6 separate regions of the Homo sapiens genome follow, and regions 1, 2, 3, 5 and 6 are each linked to region 4. Evidence: promoter capture Hi-C in 16 types of primary human blood cells and fetal thymus (Javierre and others, 2016). All regions are on one chromosome and are shown on one strand. The core of a region is centred on a gene start or on the middle of the fragment in contact, and the rest is flanking DNA. Distances in the headings are between cores, read along the strand shown. Region 1 overlaps ZNF345 (zinc finger protein 345). Region 2 has its middle 4.6 kb from the start of ZNF345. Region 3 overlaps ZNF529 (zinc finger protein 529). Region 4 holds the start of ZNF155 (zinc finger protein 155). Region 5 overlaps ZNF829 (zinc finger protein 829). Region 6 has its middle 31 kb from the start of ZNF829.

What was found. Contacts are between HindIII fragments. The CHiCAGO score rates a contact against its expected background, and 5 or more counts as called.
Region 1: a contact is called between a fragment that was not itself captured here and the fragment with the promoter of ZNF155 in region 4, in 1 of 17 cell types (non-activated CD4 T cells). The highest score is 6.4, in non-activated CD4 T cells.
Region 2: a contact is called between a fragment that was not itself captured here and the fragment with the promoter of ZNF155 in region 4, in 1 of 17 cell types (naive CD8 T cells). The highest score is 8.8, in naive CD8 T cells.
Region 3: a contact is called between a fragment that was not itself captured here and the fragment with the promoter of ZNF155 in region 4, in 3 of 17 cell types (non-activated CD4 T cells, total CD4 T cells and activated CD4 T cells). The highest score is 6.1, in non-activated CD4 T cells.
Region 5: a contact is called between a fragment that was not itself captured here and the fragment with the promoter of ZNF155 in region 4, in 1 of 17 cell types (naive CD8 T cells). The highest score is 6.9, in naive CD8 T cells.
Region 6: a contact is called between a fragment that was not itself captured here and the fragment with the promoter of ZNF155 in region 4, in 2 of 17 cell types (naive B cells and non-activated CD4 T cells). The highest score is 9.4, in naive B cells.

Annotation. Positions count from the first base shown.
Region 1 is chr19:36,867,318-36,870,171 of GRCh38, reverse strand. All of the region lies in intron 2 of ZNF345 (zinc finger protein 345), which reads right to left. Among named protein-coding and RNA genes, the nearest start is that of ZNF345, 18 kb to the right of the region's middle. The HindIII fragment of the contact is 6,931 bases long and covers 1-2,854 here.
Region 2 is chr19:36,844,947-36,847,646 of GRCh38, reverse strand. It overlaps a transcript of ZNF790 not described here. Among named protein-coding and RNA genes, the nearest start is that of ZNF345, 4.6 kb to the left of the region's middle. The HindIII fragment of the contact is 5,910 bases long and covers 1-2,700 here.
Region 3 is chr19:36,559,913-36,562,728 of GRCh38, reverse strand. The region is part of intron 2 of ZNF529 (zinc finger protein 529); the gene reads left to right. Among named protein-coding and RNA genes, the nearest start is that of ZNF529, 12 kb to the left of the region's middle. The HindIII fragment of the contact is 5,321 bases long and covers 1-2,816 here.
Region 4 is chr19:43,982,909-43,985,668 of GRCh38, reverse strand. It overlaps ZNF155 (zinc finger protein 155), which reads right to left and starts at 1,481. Exons shown (of 5, transcript NM_198089.3): 1 at 1,424-1,481. RefSeq lists a silencer at 1,585-1,784. The HindIII fragment of the contact is 8,717 bases long and covers 1-2,760 here.
Region 5 is chr19:36,901,592-36,904,291 of GRCh38, reverse strand. All of the region lies in intron 5 of ZNF829 (zinc finger protein 829), which reads left to right. It also overlaps the pseudogene RPL31P61. Among named protein-coding and RNA genes, the nearest start is that of ZNF829, 13 kb to the left of the region's middle. The HindIII fragment of the contact is 3,676 bases long and covers 1-2,700 here.
Region 6 is chr19:36,884,228-36,886,927 of GRCh38, reverse strand. It overlaps a transcript of ZNF345 not described here. Among named protein-coding and RNA genes, the nearest start is that of ZNF829, 31 kb to the left of the region's middle. The HindIII fragment of the contact is 3,615 bases long and covers 1-2,700 here.

The sequences.
Region 1 (2,854 bases), core at 222-2,721, 7.1 Mb after region 4:
TGGGTGATGATATTTACAAAACATTTAACTGTCAAAGAACTAGCAGGTAAAATATAAGATCTTTCTCAAATCATTAATAAAAAACTAAATGGGCTGGGTGCAGTGGCTCAAGTCTGTAATCCCAGCACTTTGGGAGGCCAAGGTGGGCGGCTCACTTGAGGTCAGGAGTTCGAAACCAGCCTGGCCCACATGGTGAAACCCTGTCTCTATTAAAAATACAAAACAGTTAGTCAGGCATGGTGGCACACCAGGCGTGGTGGCATGTGCCTGTAATCCCAGCTACTTGGGATGCTGAGGCAGGAGAACTGCTTGAACCCAGGAGGTAGAGCTTGCAGTGAGCCGAGATCACGCTACTGCATTCCAGCCGGGGCGACAGAGCAAGACTCAGTCTCAAAAAAAAAAAAAAAGCTAAATGATCCAAGAGAAAAGAAACCACTAAATAAATAAGAAAACACTGCCATATTCACTCCTGGTCTTGTTTATGCCCTGTGTAATAATTTGTCAGGTCTTTGTCCTAGGGTTCCTAGCACAGAGCTAGACATGTCTTTGCTATGGATCACACCTGAGTTTATGCTAATGAGGTAACTCATGGTGGACCCGAGTAGCTTCAGAATTGGGGCAGTCATCAAAAATACTTTTAGCTAGCCAGTCTCTGAGGAAGAAAGTGGGGCTGGAGACTGAGTTCAGTCATGTGGCCAATGATTAATCAATCATGCCTACATAATGAAATTCCACCCCAAAGTTCAGTGGGGCTTCCTTACTGGTGAACATATCAATGTGTTTGGAGGGTGACACACCCTGCTTTCACCAGGAAAGGGCATAGAAACTGTGTATAGGTCCCTTTCAGACCTTGCTCTATGTGTCTCTTTACTGTGCTGTTCCTAATTTGTATCCTTATCTTTCATAATAAAACTATAATTTTAAGTGTAGTGCTTTCCTGAATTCTGTGAGTTGTAGTAAATTACTAAATGAAGGGGGGAGGGGGAGGGAGTCATGGGAACTTCCTGGAATTGTAGCTAGTTGGCCTAAAGTAAGGGCAGATTTACTGGGGACTGTATGCTAAAACCTATGGAGTCTGACACTAACTCTGGGCAGCTAGTACCAGAACTGAATTGCAGTACATCAGTTGGAGATTAAATAGATTAAAATCCCATGTTCATGGATTAGAAGACTTAACATGAAGATGGCAATACTCGCTAAAATAATCTGCAGATTCAATACAATCTCTATTAACACTTCAGTGGCCTTTGAAATGAAAAGCCAGGCGGGGCGGTAATCCCAGCAGTTTGGGAGGCTGAGGCGGGTGGATCACGAGGTCAGGAGTTTGAGACTAGCTTGGCCAACATGGTGAAACCCTGTCTCTACTAAAAGTAAAAAAATTAGCTGGGCGTGGTGGCACGCACCTGTAATCCCAGCTACTCGGGAGCCTGAGGCAGGAGAATTGTTAGAACCCAGGAAGCGGAGGTTGCAGTGAGCCGAGCTCCACCACTGCACTCCAGCCTGGGCAACAGAGCAAGACTCCATCTCAAAAAAAAAAAAAAAGCCACTCCTCATATCCATGTGGAACTGCAATGGGTACCCAAAATCATATGGAACTGTAATGTGTATTGAAAATGAAAAAGTAGGACTCACTTCTTCCAATTGTAAAACTTACTATTATAAAGCTACAGTAATCAAAAGGACTGGCCTAAGAACAGCCTTGTAAACTAATGGAATAAAACTGAAAATCCAGAAATAAACCCAAACATCTATGACTAATAGATTTCCCAGAAGGCCAGTTAAGTCCACTGAATGGAGAAAGAAATGTCTCTTCAAAAAATGGTATTGAGACAACTGGATAAACACATGCAAATATAAAATGTGAACTCAAGGCCGGGCGCGGTGGCTCACGCCTGTAATCCCAGCACTTTGGGAGGCCAAGGCGGGTGGATCACAAGGTCAGGAGTTTGAGACTAGCTTGGCCAATGTGGTAAAACCCTGTCTCTACTAAAAGTAAAAAAAATTAGCTGGGCGTGGTGGCACGCACCTGTAATCCCAGCTACTCGGGAGCCTGAGGCAGGAGAATTTTTGGAACGCAGGAAGCAGAGGTTGCAGTGAGCAGAGATTTCACCACTGCACTCTAGCCTGGGCGACACAGCAAGACTCTGACTCAAAAAAAAAAAAAAAAAAGCCACTCCTCATATCCATATGGAACTGCAATTGGTACCCAAAATCCATATGGAACTGCAATGTGTATTGAAAATGAAAAGGTAGGACTCTCTTCTTACAATTGTAAAACTTACTACTACAAAGCTACAGTAATCAATAGGACTGGCCTAAGAACAGACTTGTAAACTAATGGAATAAAACTGAAAATCCAGAAATAAACCCAAACATCTATGACTAATAGATTTCCCAGAAGGATAGTAAGTCCACTGAATGGAGAAAGAAATGTCTCTTCAACAAATGGTATTGGGACAACTGGATAAACACATGCAAATATAAAATGTGAGCTCAAGATGGATCAACAACCTAAACAGAAGTGCTAAATCATAAAATTCTTTCAAAAAAACAGAATTTCTAATTCTTCATGACCTCAGATTTGGCAATTAATTCTTAAATTTAACACCTAAAGCACAAGCAATGAAAGAAAAGAATACATCAATTTAAATTCATCCAAGTTAAAAGTTTGTGCTTCAATTGGGTACAGGGTATTTCTAGAGGCAGATGAAAAAGGTTTAAAACTAGAGAGAATCAATAGTTGCACAATATTGTGAATACAGCAAATACCACTGAATTTATACTAAATACCACTGAATTATACACTTTAAAATGGTTAAGTGTATCTCATGTGAATTTTGCCTAAAAGAACAAA
Region 2 (2,700 bases), core at 108-2,607, 7.1 Mb after region 4:
TCCCAAGTAGCTGGGATTACAGGCACATGCCACCAATCCCGGCTAATTTTTGTATTTTTAGTAGAGACGGGGTTTCACCATGTTGTCCAGGCTTGTCTCGAACTCCTGACCTCAGGTGATCCACCCGCCTCGGCCTCCCAAAGTGCTGGGATTACAGGCGTGAAGGGCTCCACTTCTTAATCTAACACATTGGCGATTAAGTTTCACTATATAAATTTTGGGGAACACATTCAGAACATAACCAAGGACAAAAGAACAAGTGTTTTTGTTTTGTTTTTTGTTTTGTTTTTTTTCCCAAGACAAAGTCTTACTGTATTGCCCAGGCTGGAGTGCAGTGGCGCAATCTCGGCTCACTGCAACCACTGCCTCCCGGGTTCAAGCAATTCTGCCTCAGCCTCCCGAGTAGCTGGGATTACAGATGTGCGCCACCACACCCGGCTAATTTTTGTATTTTTAGTAAAGACAGGGTTTCACCATGTTGGCCAGGCTGGTCTTGAACTCCTAACCTCATGATCTGCCTGCCTTGGCCTCTCAAAGTGCTGGGATTACAGGTGTGAGCCACCGCACTTGGCTAAGAACAAGTGTTTTAACAGAAAATACTCTGTTTAGGAAACTACAAGGGTTTTAGGACCCATGAACCAAGAACCATGGGCATGGATAAAGACCAAAATACATATTTCTTATTACATCACAATATCAGAGAGGTATAGACTCAGGATTGGTTGGTTTGCATATGTAAGCTGTGCTCATTGGAAAACTGTGATTATCTTTAGGAATTAGCCCTGAGAGGAGCAGCCTCTCCCTGTTTTTGGTAAGGTCCCCAAATGCCAGAGCATCAAGAATACAGAAAATAAGAAAATATAGTTAATATAATTGGCCTCTTGATGAACGAGTGCCAAATAGACTAATAGAGAATCTAAGGAAATGCAGTTAGAACACAGAGGCTATGTAAGTATTTACCTTCCACAAATGGTGAACTAATTTTTATTCCAACCAGAAATGTATGAAAGTTCCTATTTCCTGTTCCTGTCAACCATTGTATTTCTTCATTCAGCAGATATTCATTGAGCTCTTTTTTTTTTTGAGACGGAGTCTCGCTCTGTCGCCCAGGCTGGAGTGCAGTGGCACTGTCTCGGCTCACTGCAACCTCCGCTTCCCGGGTTCAAGAATTCTTCTGCCTCAGCCTCCCGAGTAGCTGGGACTGCAGGCGCCTGCCACCATGCCCGGCTAATTTTTGTATTTTTAGTAGAGACAGGGTTTCACTGTGTTAGCCAGGATGGTCTCGATCTCCTGACCTCGTGATCTTGTGATCTGCCCGCATCGTCCTCCCAAAGTGCTGGGACTACAGGCGTGAGCCACTGCGCCTGGCCTCATTGAGCTCCTTATCTGTGCCAGGTGCTATTCTAGGCACTAGGAAAATATCAGTGAACAGAACAGCCAAGATTTCCTGTCCTCACAGAGTATACCATTCTAGTTGGGGAAGTGGACAATGAATGTGTAAATGAAATATATCATATTCCAGATAAAGATAAGATTGGGGCCAGGTGTGGTGGCTCATGCCTGTAATCCAAGCACTTTGGGAGGCCAAGATGGGCGTATCACCTGAGGTCAGGAGTTCGAGATCATCCTGGCCAACATGGTGAAACGCCGTCTCTGATAAAAATACAAAAATTAGCCAAGTGTGGTGGTGCATTCCTGTAATCCCAGCTACTGGGTAGGCTGAGGCAGGAGAATCGCTTGAACCCGGGAGGCAGAGGTTGCAGTGAGCCGAGATCATGCCATTGCACTCCAGCCTGGGCAACAAGAGTGAAACTCCGTCTCCCACCACCCCCCTCAAAAAAAAAAAAAGAATCTAGGTTCTTTATAAATCTTTGTGCTGTCATATTGCACTGTCATTTTCTGCAAAGCCAAAGGTGGATCCATTTTTTCTGTCAATTTGTTGTACATGTTTTTAAAAATCTTTTAGTGATTACCTGAAAGATTACAGCATTCCTCTTTCTTTTAGTCTAGGACAAATTATTGACTTTACCATTTCCCCAATACTGCTAGAGGACCTTGGGACACTTTAACTCCATTTACCTCCATCCTCATTTTTGCTTTATTTTTGTTATTTAATTCTGCATACATTCAAAACCCCAGAGGGCAGTATATTACTTTGTGCAGTCAATATTCATTTATATTCACATACTTACTCTTTCTATTGCTATTCTTTCCCTACTAATTTTTTTTTTTTTTGGAAACAGGGACTCTGTCACCCAGGTTGAGTGCAGTGGCATGATCATGGCTCACTGCAGCCTCGACCTCCCAGGCTCAAGTGATCCTCCTACCTCAGCCTCCTGAGTAGCTGGAACCGCAGGTGTGCGCCACCACGCCCAGCTAATTTTTGATTTTTTGTAGAGGCAAAGTCTTGCTATATTGCTCAGGCTGGTCTTGAACTCCTAGATGCAAATGAACCTCCACCTTGGCCTCCCAGATTGCTGGGATTACTAGTATTAGCCACTGTGCCTGGCCTAAATTTCTTTCTGTTTCATCTGAGATCTTGTTCTTCTCGAAAAACTCCATTTAGTATTTCTTTTTTTTTTTTTTTTTTTTTTTTTTTGAGACGGAGTCTCGCTCTGTCGCCCAGGCTGGAGTGCAGTGGCGGGATCTCAGCTCACTGCAAGCTCCGCCTCCCGGGTTCACGCCATTCTCCTGCCTCAG
Region 3 (2,816 bases), core at 17-2,516, 7.4 Mb after region 4:
AGTAGCTGGGACTACAGGCACCTGCCACCACGCCCGGCTATTTTTTTGTAGTTTTTTAGTAGAGACGGGGTTTCACCCTGTTAGCCAGGATGGTCTCGATTTCCTGACCTCGTGATCCGCCCACCTCGGCCTCCCAAAGTGCTAGGATTACAGGCATGAGCCACCGCGCCCGGCCAGGCTCCACCTTCTAATACTATCACATTGGCAACACCTGAATTTTGGAGAGGACATGTTACATTCTGCCCCTGGACCCCCCCTATATTCATGTCTTTCTCATGTACAAAATACATTCATTTCACTCCAATAGCCCCCAAAGTATTAAAACTCATTTCAGCATAAACTTTAAAGTCAACTTAAAGGGCAGAGTCTCATCTAGGTATTATCTAAATCATGTGATTCATCCTGAGGCAAATTGCTCTCTAGTCCTGTACCTGTGAAACCAAACTAGTTACGTGCTTCCAAGCTACAATGGAATAATAATGGAATAAGGCAGACATTTCTTTTTTTTTTTCCCCTGGGCTGCAGTGCAATGGTGCGATCTCGGCTCACCGCAACCTCCGCCTCCCAGGTTCAAGCGATTCTCCTACCTCAGCCTCCCGAGTAGCTGGGATTACAGGCATGCACCACCATTCCTGGCTAATTTTTTTGTATTTTTAGTAGAGATGGGGTTTCTCCATGTTGGTCAGGCTGGTCTTGAACTCCCCACCTCAGATGATCCACCTGCCTTGGCCTCCCAGAGTGCTGGGATTATAGGCATGAGCCACTGCACCCGGCCAGGACAGACATTTCTATTCCAAAACAGATAAATAAGAAAGTATGGGTCACTGGTCTCAAGTAGGTCCAAAACTGAACAGGGCAAACAACAATAAACCTTTAGCCTGGAGAATAATCATCTTTGACTCCTTGTCGCATGTTCCAGACACACTGGGATGGGGGTTGGACCCCAAAGGCCCGAAGGGTCCCTGCCACCATGGCTTTGGTGTGCACAGTTCATACTGCAGCTCTCATAGGTTGCAGTCAGGTGCCACTGGCTCTCTCCCAGGCCCATGTTGCATGCTGCTGGCTCTACAGGTCTAGGGTTTGGGGAGTGGCACAGCCTGTATGACTCCACTGGACAATGCCCTAGGGGGGACTGTCTGCAGTGGCTCTGCCTCTGTAGTAGGTCTCTGTCTAGGCCCTGAGGCTCTCCAAGGCATCACGTGCCTGTAATCCCAGCTATTTGGGAGGCTGAGACAAAAGAATTGCTTGAGCCGGGGAGGCGGAGGTTGCAGTGAGCCAAGATCGCACCACTGCACTCCAGCTTGGGCAATACAGTGAGAGTCTGTCTCAAAAAAAAAAAAAAAAAGAAATCTCTTTGAAGGATGCCATGCTTCCACATCTTGTGCACTCTGCACACTTGCAAAATCAGTACCATGTGGATGCTGAGGTTCACCACTTTGCCCTCCAGAGCAGGGACTAAACTGCACCTGGGCCCACTGGAGCCACAACTACGGCAGCCAAGGAGCACTGTGCCGGGATGTGGGGAGCAGAGACTTGAGGCAGCCCCGGGCAGCAAGCCCCAAAGTTCCATGAGTGTTCTACGCCCTTCCCTGGAAACCATCCTGCCTTCAAGGCCCTCGCACTGTGGGCCTGTGATGGGAGGAGCAGCCTTGAAGCTCTCTGAAGTGCCATTGGGTTCATTCTCCTATTGTCATGATGAAAACACCTGGCTTCTTTCTAGCCACACTCTGATCAGAAAGTCACTTGGTCACACCCTTGGTTTACTTTCCTAAATACCTTTTTATTTACATGCTTAGGCTGAGAATTTTCAAATCTCTATATTTTGCTTCCGTGTTATAAATCCCATCTTTGTATTGTTTCTTCTCACATTTTACTCTGAGTAGTTAAGAGAAGCCGAGCAGCACCCTGAACACTTTGCTGCTTAGAGATTTATTCTGCCAAATATCTTACTTCAGAAACAGCTTCTGATTTATATTGGCTTAATTCAAGTGAGATAGAGAAATTTACTCCTATATAACTCTTATTTCCTTTCATCTTCTCTTATAGTAATATTGGTCTTCACATTATATCTACAGATGTTTCAAACTCAACCAATCGTTGTTGTAATTTTTACCTTATATAAGTCTATGTTTTTAAAAAAAAATGAGAAGAAAGGAGAACCTTTATACATTTATAACTTTTATTTTATCAATCTGATTTCTCACTTTGGGTTCTCCTCATTTGGTCCAGATGGATTCGAGTTACCATCTGGATTCATTTCCTTAGCCCAGTACAACTTTGCTTTCCCCTGCCTTGTGTTATTATTAGCAAATATATTACATTTCTGTATGTTATGGGCCCAATAAATACATAAGTACACGTTTCATAAAATTTGTATATCAGTTAAGAGGAGAAGAGATATATATGTATACTGTCTTTTATAATTACATAAAACTGGCTTGCTTCTCTTTTTTTTTTTTTTTTTTTTTTTTGAGACGGAGTTTCGCTCTTGTTGCCCAGGCTGGAGTACAATGGCGTGATCTCGGCTCACCGCAACCTCTGCCTCCTGGGTTCATGTGATTGTTCTGCCTCAGCCTCCCGAGTAACTGGGATTACAGGCATGCATCACCACACCCGGCTAATTTTTTATTTCAGTAGAGACCAGGTTTTTCCACGTTGATCAGGCTGGTCTCGAACTCCCAACCTCAGGGGATCCTCCCGCCTCAGCCTCTCAAAGTGCTGGAATTACAGGTGTGAACCAACGCACCAGGCCACTTCTCTTTGTTTTTTCTTATGGATTTGTATTACTGCCTGGGATCACCTGTTTTCAGCCTAAA
Region 4 (2,760 bases), core at 232-2,731:
TTAGGAGGCTGAAGCAGGAGAATCGCCTGAACCTGGGAGGCGGCCTATTGCACTGAGCCCAGATCGCGCCACTGCACTCTAGCCTGGGCGACAGAGCGAGACTCCGTCTCAGGAAAAAAAAAAAAAAAAAAAAAAGAAAAAGAGCAATACCTTTCCACAGAGCCATGGTGTGGCGTAAATGTATTTATTTCCATAAAGCCCTTAGAATTAAGTTACCAATTAAGGTTTAATTATTATCAACACCCATGCCCAAGGACACATCCTATACACTCTTGGTTGAGGTGAACATCTCTGTAAAAGAAAAAACCGGCCCGGCGCGGTGGCTCACACCTGTAATTCCAGCACTTTGGGAGGCCGAGGCAGGCGGATCACTTAGGACCACAGGTTCGAGACCAGCCTGGCCAACATGGTGAAACCCCGTCTCTACTAAAAATACAAAAATTAGCCGGGCATGGTGACGCATGCCTGTAATCCCAGCTACTCCGGAGCTGAGGACAGAGAATCGCTTGAACCCAGGAGGCGGAGGTTGCAGTGAGCCAAGATCGCGCCACTGCTGCACTCCAGCCTGGGAGACAGAGCAAACCTCATTCTCAAATAATAACAATAATAAAAACAGACTAACAAAATAAATAACTTTTTTTTAAAAAGAGAAAAGCCAAAGACCACTCGTGTAGACAGCTTTGTCCTCAGTAGCCAAGTCCCTCCCTGCAGCTCTTTTAGAAAAGTCAGGCTGGGGAAGGAGAAAGCTGTCAAACACTCTGCGTCGCCGTCCCGGATACAAGTTAAATGCTCCTCTCCCTTCGTGAAACGTGGATGCAACCCACGCCTTCCTAAAAAGAGGTCAGAGGCGTCCGGGATCATCCAGAGCCCTGCCGGGCTCCAAGAGAAGGGCCGGAGCAGCTGGAGCTCTGACCCCACCCGGGCACCTGACCACTTCGCGGGAAATTAACAGGACACCAAGTGACAGGAGCTGTTAAGTCTTTGTTTTATACCACAACTTTCAACTCCTAAAACAATTCTATCAGGATGGTCCTGAAATCCTCATTTAAAAAACGGCAATGGGAGGTACAGGGAGATTAAGTAACACCCCACGTTATATCGCGAGAAAGAGGTCGCACACTTAAGAGTGGAGGGAGGCGGACTGAACGAGGTCAAACACCTGGAAAACCCTCTAAACAGGCACACAAGACTAGACAGAGTTCTTCCCCGCCCCCCCCGAACCCCCGACGACTCCTCCGGTGGACCTGAGTACAGCCCCCAACGCCAGAAGGCTCCATCGACGGCAACGAAACTTCCCTCCCACCCCTCGCATCTCCAAACCTCAGGTCTTCTCCAGGGCTTCTTACCCCCTTAGTTGACCCCCCAGGTCGTTAGGCGCCCCTAATAACTGGTTCACTTTCGCAAAGACCCGCAAGACACATACTTGGCTCAAACCACCTTGTTAAGTAGCAGTGTCCTGCTCGGAGACCGGAAGTGTCGATGATGCCACAGGCGTCTGGACTACACTTCCCAGAATCCCCCGAATCCGCCTGCCTGAGCCAAAGTTCCCACGACTCCACAGAGCAAATGGACTCCACTTCCCAGAATTCACAGGTCCTCCTGCCTGGGCCAAAATTCCCACGCCTCCCAAGCTACTCGCGAAACGCCTGCGGGAGCCAAATTTCCTGCGCATCGACCGGGCAATTAGACTCCCGCAGGCGTTTCGCTGGTATCTTGGGAAATGGAGTCCATTTGCTCTGTGGAGGCGTGAGAATTTTGGCTCAGGCAGGTGGACCTGTGAATTCTGGCCTATCAACCTATATTTTTATTTTAAAAAAATGGAGTCTCATGTTCTATATCAATTTTTCTAAACTAAAAAAGAATACTTTTCATGGTTTTCTTTAGATAAAGTGACTGTGCCAACCACAGTATGAGGAACACTTCTCTGAAAATTGAGTGACTGCTATTTCTAAACCAGTTACAGCTGTATCCTTGCTCTGTTCTGCCCTCCCAAGAGATAAAAATTTATTGACACGCTCAATCGTAGTAGGCAGGAAACTGTGCCTAATATATTAGGGTATATCTGGCATCAAAGGCCCTTTCTGTCCCCCAGGTCCTTGCACTCTGGGCCTGTGATGGGAGGAGAAGCTGCCATAATCTGTGAAATGCCTTTGGGGTCATTCTTCCATTGTCTTGGACAATAGGTCCTGGCTTCAGTTGACATGGCCAATCCATACTAAATTCATGAATTAGTTAGTTGCTTAACCATACCCTTGTATTCTTCAGGTTTCCTGTTTTTTTTTTTTTCCAAAGTAGATAGGCTGTAAACTTTTAAAAATTTTAGTTCTGTTTCCCTTTTAATTAATAATTATTTCAGTCATTCCTCACTTCGTGCCTTTCACTACGGGTAGTCAAGATGATTCAAGCAACTTCAACACTTTGATTAGAAATTAATTCAGATAAACAATTATATCATTCACAAATTCTACCTTCCATAAAACACTAGCACCTGAATATAATTCAGCCAAATTCTTTGTCCCTTTATAACAAGAAGCTCTCTTCTCTTCCAATAACATGTTCAACATTTCTGACTGAGGTCTTCAGAATGGCCTTTACTGTCCATATTTCTACCAACATTCTGATCATGACTACCTAGGTATGCTCTAACAAGATTGATGTTTTCTCTACAGTTCTTATTCTCTATTTCTGAGCGCTAACCAGAATTGTCCTTATCAGTCCATTCATGGCAATGTAGGCTTTTCCTAGCATACATGTAAAAAC
Region 5 (2,700 bases), core at 160-2,659, 7.1 Mb after region 4:
CCTTCAAATTTTGCATAGTATGTTTTGTCTTTCTGTGATACATCAAACTATAAAAGTATTTCTTGATGTCTTTTTCTGATAGTTGAGGGCTGGTCTCTCGTAATCACTGTATGTATCTTGCCTATAGCAATATATTCATAGTTTATATCCTGATTACACAAATGTTGTTATAACTTTCCTGTTACCTACTTAATGTGCATCCCCATTGGTGTTATGCCTTATGTTTATTTGTATTGTAGTTTGTACTTTCTATTTTCATATCTTTGCTTAATAATAGTCACTTAGGAGTGTTTTTACATATTCTTCCCAAGTTCAAATACTGGATTGAAAATAAACCCATCAAAACTGAGATGTCTTTTTTATGTATCAGTTTTACATTTTGGAACAATTGGTTTTTTTAAGACAAAACTATTGTTATTTTTTTTTTCGAGACAGTTTTACTCTTGTTGCCCAGGCTGGAGTGCAGTGGTGCAACCTCAGCTCACTGCAACCTCTGCTTCAGCCTCCCGAGTAGCTGGGATTAGAGGCACCTGCCACCATGCCCGGCTAATTTTTTTATTTTTAGTAGAGACGAGGTTTCCCCATGTTGGCCAGGATGGTCTCGAATTCCTGACTTCAGGTGTTCCACCCACCTTGGCCTCCCAAAGTGCTGGGATTACAGGTCTGAGCCGCCGTGCCCAACCTATAATTTCCTTGATAACAAAAGCATATCTATTACATTTCTGTTATGATTATTCCCAGATAGTCTCAACTACTCAAATTATAAAGAAAGATGTGGGAGGTAGGTAATTGAGAACTGTGATATATAAACATTTTAACAGACTCCTGACATGTGATACCACTCCCCCAATAGCCACCCACATTCCTTATAAGCCTTTATAAAAAGGACAGAAATGCCCTTTTGCACATTTGTGCCCTGCACATACTATAACTAAAATTACCCTTGACCCAAAAACAAAACAAAACAAAACCACATGTATTTATTTATATTACCCAAAGGTATAGCCATCCTCTAACATAAAAAACAAGGCATACATATTAAATAATAATGGCATATTTGTTAAAACTATTCTTAGAAATCAATGTTTTAATACCTTATGTTAGAAATCATCCAGGTTTTCGAGGATTATCTATTAATTTTTCTTACTTAATGTCCATTTTCTTGAAGTTGACTAAAAATCTTGACTACTGTATTTAAACTGACACACTACAGAGCAACACAGTTACTTTTTTTCTTCTTCTTCTTTTTTATTTTTGAGATGGAGATTCGCTCTGTCGCCCAGGCTGGAGTGCAATGGCGTGATCTCGGCTCACTACAACCTCCGCCTCCCGGGTTCAAGCGATTCTCCTGCCTCAGCTTCCCAAGTAGCTGGGATTACAGGCGTGCGCCACCATGTCCAGCTAATTTTTGTATTTTTAGTAGAGACGGGGTTTCACCATGTTGCCCAGGTTGGTCTCTAACTCCTCACCTCAAGTAATCCACCCGCCTTGGCCTCCCAAAGTGCTGGGATTATAGGCGTGAGCCACTGCACCCGGCCCAACAGTTACTTGGATGTCAAAAAGTCTGACAGAACTATAATTTGATTTGGTTTAACACATAATTGTATAGTTTTTATTATTTTATTTTATTTTATTTTATTTTATTTTGAGACAGAGTCTGGCTCTGTTGCCCAGGCTGGAGTGCAGTGGTGCATCTTGGCTCACTACAACCTCCACCACACCCGCCTCTCCCAGGCTTAAGTGACCCTCCCACCTCAGTCTCCCTAGTAGCTGGGACTACAGGTGCACGGCACCATGACCGGCTAATTTTTGTATTTTTTGTAGAGATGGGATTTTGCCATGTTACCCAGGCTGGTCTCGAACTCCTAAGCTAAAGTAATCCGCCTGCCTTTGCCTCCCAAAGTGCTGGGATTACAGGCGTGAGCCACAGCACCCGGCCTAGTTTTTATAATCTTAAAATTTACATTTTGCACTGATAAAATCAGGAGGAAGATGTATAGCTATTTTTAAACCAGAATTATTAAGCCAGTCTTTTTAAAAATTTCTGTTTTTGAGCTAGCAGTTCTTGTGAGGTTGTGGGGTTATTTTTGCGGGGTGCGGGGGGGTACTTGTTTTTTTTTTTCTTTTTTTTTTGCAATTTTATAACTATTTGATGTATTTGACAATCAGTGATTAGTTCTCATCCACATTGACTGTCTGTAGATTTTTGAAAGTGGTAACAGATACATAGATAACCAAAGTATAGAGTTTATTTGGTGAATCTTCATCCCCATTACGTATTCTGGACAACCGCACATGGATTCGTTATGGGACATTCCTTATTCCTTTGGCCCAGACAGCTTTGTTGAGCCTGGTATCAGTGCGCACATCTGGAGTTCCCATCTCCTTCATGGCAAATTTCTGAATCTCTTTGAGTGTCCGAGGGGCACGCTTCTTGAAGCCCACTCCATGGATGCGCTTGTGCATACTGATGGTGTATTCTCAGGTCACCACCTTGTGGATGGCAGAACGGCCCTTTTTCTTCTCACCACCCTTCTTTGTGGGAGCCATTCTGCCGGATCCAAGTTGGAAAGACTTGTTTATTTTTTAAGGCTAGCACATTCAAACTACTAGAAGTTTTCTGTGACTGTCTTTGCACTACAATCACACACTTGGATAGCCCACAAAGCTGAAAATATTTGCTATCTTATTCTTTATTTA
Region 6 (2,700 bases), core at 171-2,670, 7.1 Mb after region 4:
CCGCCTCTTGGGTTCATGCCATTCTCCTGCCTCAGCCTCCCGAGTAGCTGGGATTACAGGCGCCCACCACCACGCCCGGCTAATTTTTTGTATTTTTTTTTTTTAGTAGAGACGGGGTTTCACCGTGTTAGCCAGGATGGTCTCGATCTCCTGACCTCGTGATCCGCCCGCCTCGGCCTCCCAAAGTGCTGGGATTACAGGCGTGAGCCACCGCGCCCGGCCCCCAGCTAATTTTTGTATTTTTAGTAGAGACGGGGCTTCACCATGTTGGCCAGGCTGGTCTCGAACTCCTGACCTCAGGTGATCCACCCTCCTCGGCCTCCCAAAGTGCTGGGATTATAGGCATGAGCCAGCGGGCCTGGCCCTCTTCCTCATTTTAAATGACCTTAACTATTTTGAGGAGGTCAGTATAGCGTAGAATGTTCCTCCGCTAAGATCTGACTGATGTTTTTCTCATGATTAGACTGAGGTTGTTTGCAGGAGGAAGATCACAGAGGTAAAGTGCCATTTTCCTCATAGATATCAAAGATTCATACTATCAGCATGATGACTTTTTGTTGGTCTTGATCACCTGAGTGAGGGAGTGTTTGTCAAGTTTCTCCAGTGTAAATTTAGTCTTTTCTCCCTTTTCCCATACAGTCATCTTTGGAAGTCACTATGCACAGCACGTACTTAAGGAGCGGGGTTATGCTCCACTTTCCTGAAGGCAGAATATCTACATAAATTATTTAGAATTCTGTACTGGAGATTTATCTCTTCTCCATTTATTTAGTTATTTATCTGATAATATAGTCATATCAGTATGAATGCATGGATATTTATTTTATACTTCGGGTTATAATCCAATACCACTTTATTTGTTGCTCAAATTTTCTTGGAGTGATATCATCTAAATCACTGTGGCTATGCTGTTGTGAACGCCCTGAAAGCTACACAAACAGACAAATTAGGTTATTATAAACATCTAAGTAACATAACCATGGTTAGGATCAGGATGGTATCAGGAAAGGTGATGAGAGGCGGGTAGAATTGGAATATAACTGGGGGGAAAGAATTTACTTTTCATTACATAACACTGGATTAACTTGGATATCCGTAGCAGTATTGATAATTAAACTTGACCCACTAAATCTCATACTGTACACCAAACTTCTCTCAGACTTCATTCTATGTGTCTCTTCCTGTGGCTAGTTGAAATATGTATCCTTTCACTATAATAAAGTTGTAATCATAGGCCAGGCACGGTGGCTCACACCTGTAATCCCAGGCAAGATGTGAGTGGTGAAATAAAGCCTCTAGGGGAAGAAAGAGAATACCTTCATAAGTTTGTAGGCATGAAACACACACACACACGCACACAAACATTTAAGACTCAAAGTTCTAACCATATATAGAAAAAGGTTGATAAACAGGAGTTCATTAAAATTAAAAACTCCAATTCATCAACCCATACCTTTAAGAGAGTGGAAATGCAAGCCACAAAGCAAAAGGCATTTGCAACATACATATCTAGCAAACAAATCAGATCCAAAATACACAAAGAATTCACACAAAGCAATAAGGAAAAGACACGATACGCATTTAAAACGGCCAAAGTCTTACCAACCCTGCATACAAGATATCAAAAAAGCTAGTAAGCAAGCATATGAAAAGGTATTCAACATTATTAGTCATTGGAAGTGAAAATGTAACTTTCTACATACTTATATAACTATATAATAGTTATATAATATTTCTATATATAATTCTAGTAACTAATACATTAGTATAGTCCCATTAGAATGACTATACAATACTAAGTGTGAAGAGGACATACAGCAAATGAAACCCTTACAGATTCTTTGTGGGAGTGTAAATTTGCACAATCACTTTGGAAAACTGACATTTACTAAATATAGCCTATCTCTGACTCAGCAATTCCATTCTGAAGTATACTGCCAATAGAAAAGAGTAAATATGTCTACATAAAGACATGTATAAGAAGGTTCCCAGAGTTGTAGAAACAATACAGATACCCATCAACGAAAGAATGAGTAAGTCAAAGTATATTCCTGTATAGTGATAAATTAACTTCACCCAAAGAGAGGTCTTGCCTTTACCTTGGGTACTGGGAGGCCCACTGGGGGTACTCTAGGCCTCTGGAATGTCCTGCCCAATAACAGTGTCTTGGTTTGGCTGGGTGCTTTGGATGGCCACCCGACAGTATAACATGATTTATGATGAGTGCTTTGAGGCATGCTATCTCAGTTTTGACTTCTGGGGAAATGGCAGACAAACAGTATTAGACAAACCAGCAAGAAGGGCAGAAAGACAAAGGTCAGCTATGTGGGCAGTATATTATCAAACCCCAAGAAAAACACTGGAAACCAAAGGCTAAGGTGAGCTTCCCTGGATTGCAACACTTATCAGTACACATTGTAGCTGGAAGGAGGTAATGCCATCCAGGACTCCATAGGGATAGGATGACCAGAAGACTCATCTTTGGACCCCTCTCAGACTTCATTCTATGTGTCTCTTCCTCTGGCTAGTTGTAATTTGTATCCTTTCACTATAATAAGGTTGTAATCATAGGCCAGGTGCGGTGGCTCATGCCTGTAATCCCAGCACTTTGGGAGGCTGAGGTGGGCAGATCACTTGTGGTCAGGAGTTCAAGACCAACATGGTGAAACCTCGTCTCTACTAAAAGTACAAAAATTTAGC